Linked DNA regions of Homo sapiens: region 2 is linked to region 1. The links are contacts of gene promoters, found by promoter capture Hi-C in blood cells and fetal thymus (Javierre and others, 2016). All regions are on one chromosome and are shown on one strand. The core of a region is centred on a gene start or on the middle of the fragment in contact, and the rest is flanking DNA. Distances in the headings are between cores, read along the strand shown.

Evidence for each region. The method cuts DNA at HindIII sites, captures the fragments that hold promoters and counts their contacts. A CHiCAGO score of 5 or more calls a contact.
Region 2: a contact is called between a fragment that was not itself captured here and the fragment with the promoter of KCNF1 in region 1, in 1 of 17 cell types (non-activated CD4 T cells). The highest score is 5.5, in non-activated CD4 T cells.

The regions. Positions count from the first base shown.
Region 1 is chr2:10,910,355-10,914,915 of GRCh38, forward strand. It overlaps KCNF1 (potassium voltage-gated channel modifier subfamily F member 1), which reads left to right and starts at 1,580. Exons shown (of 1, transcript NM_002236.5): 1 at 1,580-3,871. The coding sequence starts at 2,073. The coding sequence ends at 3,557. The HindIII fragment of the contact is 10,094 bases long and covers 1-4,099 here.
Region 2 is chr2:11,408,406-11,412,812 of GRCh38, forward strand. The region is part of intron 2 of LOC105373429 (a long non-coding RNA gene); the gene reads left to right. Among named protein-coding and RNA genes, the nearest start is that of LINC00570, 17 kb to the left of the region's middle. The HindIII fragment of the contact is 294 bases long and covers 2,898-3,191 here.

The DNA.
Region 1 (4,561 bases), core at 330-2,829:
AAATTAAATGACAAAAATGCAAAGCACTCAGAGACTGCACTCCGATGCCCATGGAGAATAAGTGGCAACTCTTATTATTACTCAACCTTTCTGAGCCTCGATTTCCTACTCTGTAGTAGCATGTCATTGTCTGATGCTAAATGGAAATGAAGTAAAATTTGTAAAACGAAGTTTCACTAAATAATACTTCATGTGATGTATTCTAATATATTCTGTTTTATGCTAACTCATTAAAGAAAAAAGAATACTGTCAGTGACCCAGTAAATTGATTTCATAATCCATTAACGGACATGTCCTTAAGTTTTAAAAAACCCAGCCTACAGAATACATTTTTAAATAGACTTTATATTTTAGAGCACAATTCAACAGAAAGTACAGAGAATTCCCACATGCCCCCTGTCTCCACAGCTCTCCCCTGCGCATCAACATCTCACACAGGGTGGGACACTTGTCATGGTGGACCACCCCACATGGACACGTCATCATCGCCCAGCACCGAGTTTGCATTAACATTCGCTCCTGGTGGTGAACATTCTATGGATTTTGACCATTGCATAACGACACATATCCGCCATTATGGTACGTTTCACTGCCCTAAAAATCCTCTGCTCTGCCTATTCATTCTTCCCTCCAGAATATTTTTAACACGATCTCGAGGCCATAGATGATATCAGTAATTTGCAGTATTGATGATAGTGGTGAACCGGAGGAGAGAGACACTGTTAGGAAGCTGCTGTAGTGGTTCAGGTGAGTGAGGACAGAAGGACAGCTGTGGCTGCAAAGGCTGGAAGAGAGGAGGGTGTGGGACACTGGTCAGGAAGAGACAGGCCTTGGTCAAGGAGTGAGGAACGGGGAAGCAGGAGCCACTGGACCCTAGGGGTCTGGAAGCTAGTGGCCTTGGTGTGGGACTGCAGAGAGATAGGAGGTGCCAGACGGCAGGGACTTCAAGGCAGAATTGAAATCTGCTGAACAGCAGGCGTCGGTCAGCTGGGACAGCCGGAAAGCTCGGGATCAGGAGGCGGTCAAGCTGAGCTCTGCTCTCATTCCGCCGCGTGACCTTGGGCAAGTCCCTTCCCTTCTACAGGAGGCTGGACTAGATGTCCTCCTTGTACAGCGTTGCGGGGAAGGTGAGACAGTGCCACCAACACAGCAGGGCATTGCTGGGTCGGGGGGATGGGGCAGGAAACGCTTCAAGGATCAGGCAGGATTTTCCTCCCACCAGGAAAAGCCGGCGCGGGTCTAAGGCCGGAGGAGGGACCCAGACATAGGAGTCACCTTCTAAGGGGCTTCCTGGAGCACATTTTCCTGCCCAGCAACAGGCGGCAGCATTCTCTCCCCACTAATCCTCTCCAAACAGCAGTGAGAGAGAATGCCTGCCGCTTCAAGCCAGGTCGCAACCCCTCGGTGACCCGCTGCGCCCGAGGAGGGGCCGGCGGTGCGCGGTGGTGGCGGCGGGCGCGGCAGCTGTGCCCGTCTGCCCAAGGGTTAATCCGTCCCCTGCAGCTGCCGCGCGTGCCTTGCAGAATTTCACCAGAAGAGGGTACAGTTTGAAAAGCTCCTGACGTCAGGCTGGAATTCCTATTGTGTTTAGAAAAGGCTCGGGCAAAGCCAGCCCAAGTTCGCTCTCTGCACACCTCGAGCACCTCGCGGACGGCGTGGGTCCGCCAGCTCCGGGACCTGCCGCCGCTGCCTGCGCGCCCCGGGGCGGAGGACGGTGCCAGCCGCCCACGAGGAGACCCCGCTCCCGCAGGAGGCCGAGCTGAAGCGGCGGAGCGCGCCGCCAGCCAGCCGGGGTGAGTGCCCCGGGCGAGGCCGGCGGCCGCCAAAGCCCCCGCGGGCTCGCCCGGGCGCCCGGATGCCAGCCCCGAGCCCCGCCGCCGGGTGCATGCCTCCCCCGCGGCGCGCCCCCGCAGGCTGCTGCCCGCTGTGACCGCCCTTCCCCGCAGGCGGGCGCCGGCCAGGCTCTCCCCGAGATCAGCGCACGGGTGGCACCCGCCGGACCCCCAGCGGCAGCGGCGGCGGCGGCTGCAGGGGGCGCGGGGCGGAGGCTGCGAGGGCGCGCGCGGGGAGGATGGACGGGTCCGGGGAGCGCAGCCTCCCGGAGCCGGGCAGCCAGAGCTCCGCTGCCAGCGACGACATAGAGATAGTCGTCAACGTGGGGGGCGTGCGGCAGGTGCTGTACGGGGACCTCCTCAGTCAGTACCCTGAGACCCGGCTGGCGGAGCTCATCAACTGCTTGGCTGGGGGCTACGACACCATCTTCTCCCTGTGCGACGACTACGACCCCGGCAAGCGCGAGTTCTACTTTGACAGGGACCCGGACGCCTTCAAGTGTGTCATCGAGGTGTACTATTTCGGGGAGGTCCACATGAAGAAGGGCATCTGCCCCATCTGCTTCAAGAACGAGATGGACTTCTGGAAGGTGGACCTCAAGTTCCTGGACGACTGTTGCAAGAGCCACCTGAGCGAGAAGCGCGAGGAGCTGGAGGAGATCGCGCGCCGCGTGCAGCTCATCCTGGACGACCTGGGCGTGGACGCAGCCGAGGGCCGCTGGCGCCGCTGCCAGAAGTGCGTCTGGAAGTTCCTGGAGAAGCCCGAGTCGTCGTGCCCGGCGCGGGTGGTGGCCGTGCTCTCCTTCCTGCTCATCCTCGTCTCGTCCGTGGTCATGTGCATGGGCACCATCCCCGAGCTGCAGGTGCTGGACGCCGAGGGCAACCGCGTGGAGCACCCGACGCTGGAGAACGTGGAGACGGCGTGCATTGGCTGGTTCACCCTGGAGTACCTGCTGCGCCTCTTCTCGTCACCCAACAAGCTGCACTTCGCGCTGTCCTTCATGAACATTGTGGACGTGCTGGCCATCCTCCCCTTCTACGTGAGCCTCACGCTCACGCACCTGGGTGCCCGCATGATGGAGCTGACCAACGTGCAGCAGGCCGTGCAGGCGCTGCGGATCATGCGCATCGCGCGCATCTTCAAGCTGGCCCGCCACTCCTCGGGCCTGCAGACCCTCACCTATGCCCTCAAGCGCAGCTTCAAGGAACTGGGGCTGCTGCTCATGTACCTGGCAGTGGGTATCTTCGTCTTCTCTGCCCTGGGCTACACCATGGAGCAGAGCCATCCAGAGACCCTGTTTAAGAGCATCCCCCAGTCCTTCTGGTGGGCCATCATCACCATGACCACCGTCGGCTACGGCGACATCTACCCCAAGACCACGCTGGGCAAGCTCAACGCGGCCATCAGCTTCTTGTGTGGTGTCATCGCCATCGCCCTGCCCATCCACCCCATCATCAACAACTTTGTCAGGTACTACAACAAGCAGCGCGTCCTGGAGACCGCGGCCAAGCACGAGCTGGAGCTGATGGAACTCAACTCCAGCAGCGGGGGCGAGGGCAAGACCGGGGGCTCCCGCAGTGACCTGGACAACCTCCCTCCAGAGCCTGCGGGGAAGGAGGCGCCGAGCTGCAGCAGCCGGCTGAAGCTCTCCCACAGCGACACCTTCATCCCCCTCCTGACCGAGGAGAAGCACCACAGGACCCGGCTCCAGAGTTGCAAGTGACAGGAGGGCCCCTCAGGCAGAGATGGACCAGGCGGTGGACAGATGGGTAGATGTGGCAGGCATGTCATCGACAGCACAGAAGGGCTGTCCTGTGTCCCCCCAACCCTCCCCTGGACAGACTCTGAAGGCCCTCCCGGCACCTCTGCCAAGGCTGGGTAAGACTCCTCTATGTTGCCTGCTGTCCAGGAGCCCGGGAGGGAGGGGTGTGCAGGAGCCGCAGGGCCGTGTGGGACGAGTGGAGGCCGCGGCCTGGCTGGCACGAGAGCCCACGCCCGCTTCTGTATCTCCCTCAATAAAGCCTCCTGCTCTGTGCACCCTCCGTGTTGTAGGTTCTGTCACAGGCTGGCTGTCACCCCCAAGAGTAGCTCAGGCACACTTCAGTGCCAGGCCAGGAGGTAGGTGTGCAGCCGGGTGGTGGGGGAGTTATTTTTAGTGGGAACTAATTAAAGAAGGGCTCATAGTCAGGTTCGGCGCCAAGGAGCCTTACCACATTCCTGGAGGCTCTGCAGGCCGTGCTTCCCTGCTGCTTCCTTCTGGGGTAAAGCTTGCTCCCCCTGCAGGCCCAGGATGGGGGAGAGTTCACAGTGCACGCCCAGCAGCCTGCAGCATTTAGTTATCACGTGCACCGGGCCCTTTTCACAACCTCTTTCTATTCCTTCCATTGACCCTACTAGCTAGGTATCTCCATTTTACAGATGAGGAAACTGAGGCCCAAGGTCACACAGAGAAGGGAACAATCCCAGGTCTGATGATCCCAAAGCCCATGTGTTCTCTCTGACACCAGGTGGTCTTGGGACAGAGGCATCTGCTTGGGCTCATGATGAGACAGTCTTTGGACCAGGAGAGGGGCTGATCTTCCTTGGTGTGGGGGTGCCTGTCCTCCAGCCCATCTTTCTAGCCCTGATACCTTTGAGATAGCTGCTGAATGGATAAACCCGAGTGTGGATGCCCCTACCCGTGTCCTGGTGTCTCACTGAATCTCCTCTGAGAGCCCCGAGGGAACA
Region 2 (4,407 bases), core at 1,795-4,294, 500 kb after region 1:
GCCATAATTTATGTCAGCTAAACTATGGAGCCCCTCCTGATGTCTGTGCTGGGACCCCCGGTGGCATTGCTGGACTCTCAGTCTTCCTGTGAACCTAACCAGCTGTGTCCTCTCTTTTAAAAATTTATTTTTGTTTGAGATGGGGTCTCACTATGTTGCCCAGACTGAGTACAGTGGCTGTTCACAGGAGTGATCACAGTACACGGCAGCCTCAAACTCCTGGGCTGAAGTGATCCTCCTGCCTCAGCCTCCCAGGTAGCTGGGACTACAAGAGCATGCCACTGTGCCTGGCTTTGTGCTCTCTCTTAATAATTAGAATAACTAACTTACTATGGAGGAAGTACTGTGACAAAAGCTTCTTGCAAACTTAGACACTCTCCTTGGCTTTTGACATGTCAAGGATTTTCAAGTAAGGAAAAAAGAGAGAAAGAAGAATGGGCGAGGAAGGGACGATAACCCCACTTTTCAGATACGACTGTAAAAAACTGAAGCAACTTGCTCAGAGAATGGGACAATGCTGAGATGTGAGGGCACTCTTTCTAACTCCAAATGTGTGCTTTTTAACCTCTTACTTCTTTCTTGGCTCAGAAGGAAAATAAATAAAATATAGCATGAAAGCCTAATGAATTATGTTGAGGCTGGGCTATCCAAGATGGCCAATTAAAGGAGAAAAAGAGAAGTTCACTGTGCAGTATGTTTAAGCCCTGAGCTCCACCTATGAATTTACAATTTTTGCTTACAAGAACCTTCACTTGCATCATGTTGGGAAAGAATAAGCCCGAAGGAGACTAATCTGATGCCTTCAGGACCTTTTGTTTTCAGGCTGAGCAGTAGCCTGACAGTGGTGGGGGCAAATGGAAAGGAAAGCCATTTGGTGGCAGGGATCATCCAGTTTATAAGTATAAAAAAGTTGTGACTCAGCTTTTGACAGGGACCCAGGAGAGGGACTTTGAATTGAGTCATTATGGATTATTCTCTGAATCCAGTAGGCCAATAGGCCAATGTGTTTTATGGCTCAAGAGGTTAAACTAGTCTGGGACATGATTTCTTAAGATTTTAGAAACAAACCAAAATATATCACTCTTCTCATGTGCAAAGTCATGGTGCATTTGTGCCTGGCATTCTGTGTGTGTTTCTGGGGGTTTAATCTCAAGAAAACTACTGTAATTCCTCATTTGTTTTACTGATAGGGAAAAAGATCTCCATATAAATGAAATTTCCAGGTATTTGAAGAGTAACCAACTGAGAACTAAAACATTTTAACTTTGAGCCTTTGGGAAGGGCTCTTTCCAAATGGTAGTATACATCTGTGCACTTTTCTAAGACTAGGAAATGACAGGATGATTTAGGGTCACCAGTAGGAACACCATTTATCATATGGACTAGACACAGTGATGATGTCAGTGGCAAGATACTAGAGTGGACAGAGTCTGAGCTTTGAAGTCGCCCTGACCAGCTTTGAATTCCAGCTGCCTCCTAGCAGCTATACAATCTTGTAGGAGTGACCTAACCTCTCAGCCTCAGTTTCCTTATATATAAAATGGGGGTAATAATTCTTACCTCCTGGGGTCATTGTGAGGATTAAATGAGATAATATGTATCTATTAGATACATAGTGTGTACATAAAACTTTCAGCAGCATACCTGACAAATAGAATGTGCTCACATCATTATTATCAACAATACAAAAAAGTCAGCTGTTGTCGTTATTGTCCCTACAATAATGCTACGCTAACTATCCCAAGATTGTTATTTTCATCGTAAGGACATGGAGTTCATTGGGTTTTATATCCATTTGTGTTTTTTTTAAATGTTTGCTTTTTAGGGGGCGGGGGTGGTCTGGTTACTTTCTTGCTGCAGCTCTCTTCCTGTGTGGGAGTACTTGCCAAAACATGACTTCCCCATCCTTTCTCATTCCATTCATTTATCCAACATGCATTGGTGACACAATGCAATGTGAGAAAACACATGCCAGAAGAGTCCCAAATACAATGTTTTGAGAACTGAGAGGAAAGGGGGATGAATAAATGAAGAATGGATGCATGAGCGTGTCACAAATGAAGAAATTGACAGGAAGGCCATAAGAGCAAGGGGCAAACACCAGAGCGCTTTCCATATGCCTGATAGAGTCTTCCCAAAAGCACACACCTCATTTTCCATTGTCATCAAATATCAGCATACACCATCATAGGGTTTGCCTTTGGCATGAATGATCTGGAAGAATCTCGGAGGTCCTCAAGCCCCTACCCTTCAAGATGCAGTAATGGAAACATTGGTGTCTCAAACCCAACAGGTCCAAAGTACGTATGTGTCACATTCACGGCCAAAGCAGCCCCTCTTCCCTCTATGCCTATTTCATATGCTGATGATACATCCAGGAAGACTGCAACAAATCTGAGAGGCATTGGGAATCGAAATTTCCACTGCCTCCCACCTCCAGTTATCCCAGTGCAGATAACTCCAAGCAGGGACGACCAGATGAGTGGATCCTCAGCACACAGGCTGAGGATGACCATCAGACAACTAGGAACAGCCAACACCTTGAACTGGAGGTACTCCAAGAGTTGTGTTTTTAATTTTTGATGTTAGTTGTAAGATGCATTCCTTTAGAGCTATTAATTATGTAAGTAATAGTAGACAAACATGGACCCTGAGGAAGGGAACCAAGGGAAGGGGGCCTGAATTTTCTGCTCTTTTGGGCGGGTGATGACTCCAAGTCATTACAATCTAGATGCATCCTTATTTTGCAGCCACAGCTTGCTGAGATCTGAGCACATAATCAGATACACTGACATGGATGTTACCGTGTGGACAAGGAATGAGCAACCTTGAAAAATGTATTTTTCTATATGCTGTTTTGGTTTTAAGATCTTGAGAAAGAAGTCCAGGAATTCACAAGCTTGAAAAGGAGATGCTGAGGCCACTGTGAAGACTTGAATACTTTTGCCTTGGAGGCAGTCCCAGGCCCACCACTCTCAGCAAAGGTCTCCTCCTGCCCTTTCCCAGATCTAACACAGGACAGCAGGCGGAGAGGAACCACCCCCTTTTCCTTCTCACTATTCTGGCTCTTGTTAGAGTGACAGTGGGATGGGAACTAGGACTCTTTGTCATTGCCAGGGGTTGCCTTGAAGGACTGGAGTCTGAGAGTAAGCAAACTTTATGACCCACAAAAAAAAAACCAGCTTCAGGAAAGCTTAATGGAGTTCCTGGTGTGAACTTAGAAGCAAGGTTTGATAATTAATTCTGACCTGGCTATTTGTGAATAAACAAAGATTAATACAGTGATTTCCATTTTGCTGAGTATTTTTCGGCCTCTGAACAGGACGGTCACATGGTTTTGCTCTTGTTTGCATGAAGCGAAATTCTGGGGTCCTCTCAATAAACCCACAAGAGTTTCTATCTCATAATGAGAGCTGGCTTCTTGTGTTTTTGAGGCAGAATTTTGACAGTGTTTCTTGTGCATTCTTCACCATCATTTGGAGCCACCACCTTGGCAACGTCTGTAGACAAGGAGATAAGGGACTCTCAAATCTATCCTTGAAGAGGAAGTGGCCCCAGAGTTCCGATAAAATCCTGCCGTATACGGGCTGTATAAAAGCAATTTGACCACTTGCGATTTTGAGTCTTAAGAATCTTTCAATTTCTCAGCCTCTGGCAGGAGTAAGAGAATAATATCCTGGATGTTTATAAAATTCGATAACCTTTTAAATCCATCCCACTTGAAGGAATAGCTAGATTTCTGGACCCCCATTTTCTGAGGCTTTCCAGGATGGACGCATGCTATCAGCTCCCCCTGCAGGTCTGACTCTTTCCTGACAGGGAATTCCTGGAGGTCCACTGAGAAAATGGATTCTGGAAGGGCTCTAAATTGTGTCGCACAGACGAAATGCTTCGACTGCTTGGAAATGACCCACCTTTCTGCTGGAAGCCACATGTCCTGGGAATGCACCAAAGTCTGAATCTGTCAGTACCTTACTATGCTGCAGGAAAACAAAGTCCCACCCAGAACTCCAGTGCCCAGGCAGGACCTTCCTTGCGCTAAACGCGCTTTAGAATGTTCAATTCTCTCTCTTCTTTGTAAGCACTGTGGCCCTGTGGTAAATCCATCACAGATAAAATGGCCTCTACATGAGCCATGTGCTAAAAAAGGATACGTACACCCATTGTGTGTTGAGTCTAAAAGTTGTTTCTCAAAAAGTTTTGGATTGTCCCAAATTTTATATGTGAGTTTGCTGATTCAGTCATTCAATAAATATTGTGATAGACATTCTGCTATGTGATTGATATGCGATAGACATTGTTTTAGGCACCCTGGATAAAGCAAGGGACCAAGGCAGGCTAAGACCCCATCCTCATGGAGCTTCAGGAACAGCAGTGACGACATACAGTAAACAAGTGCATGAACAT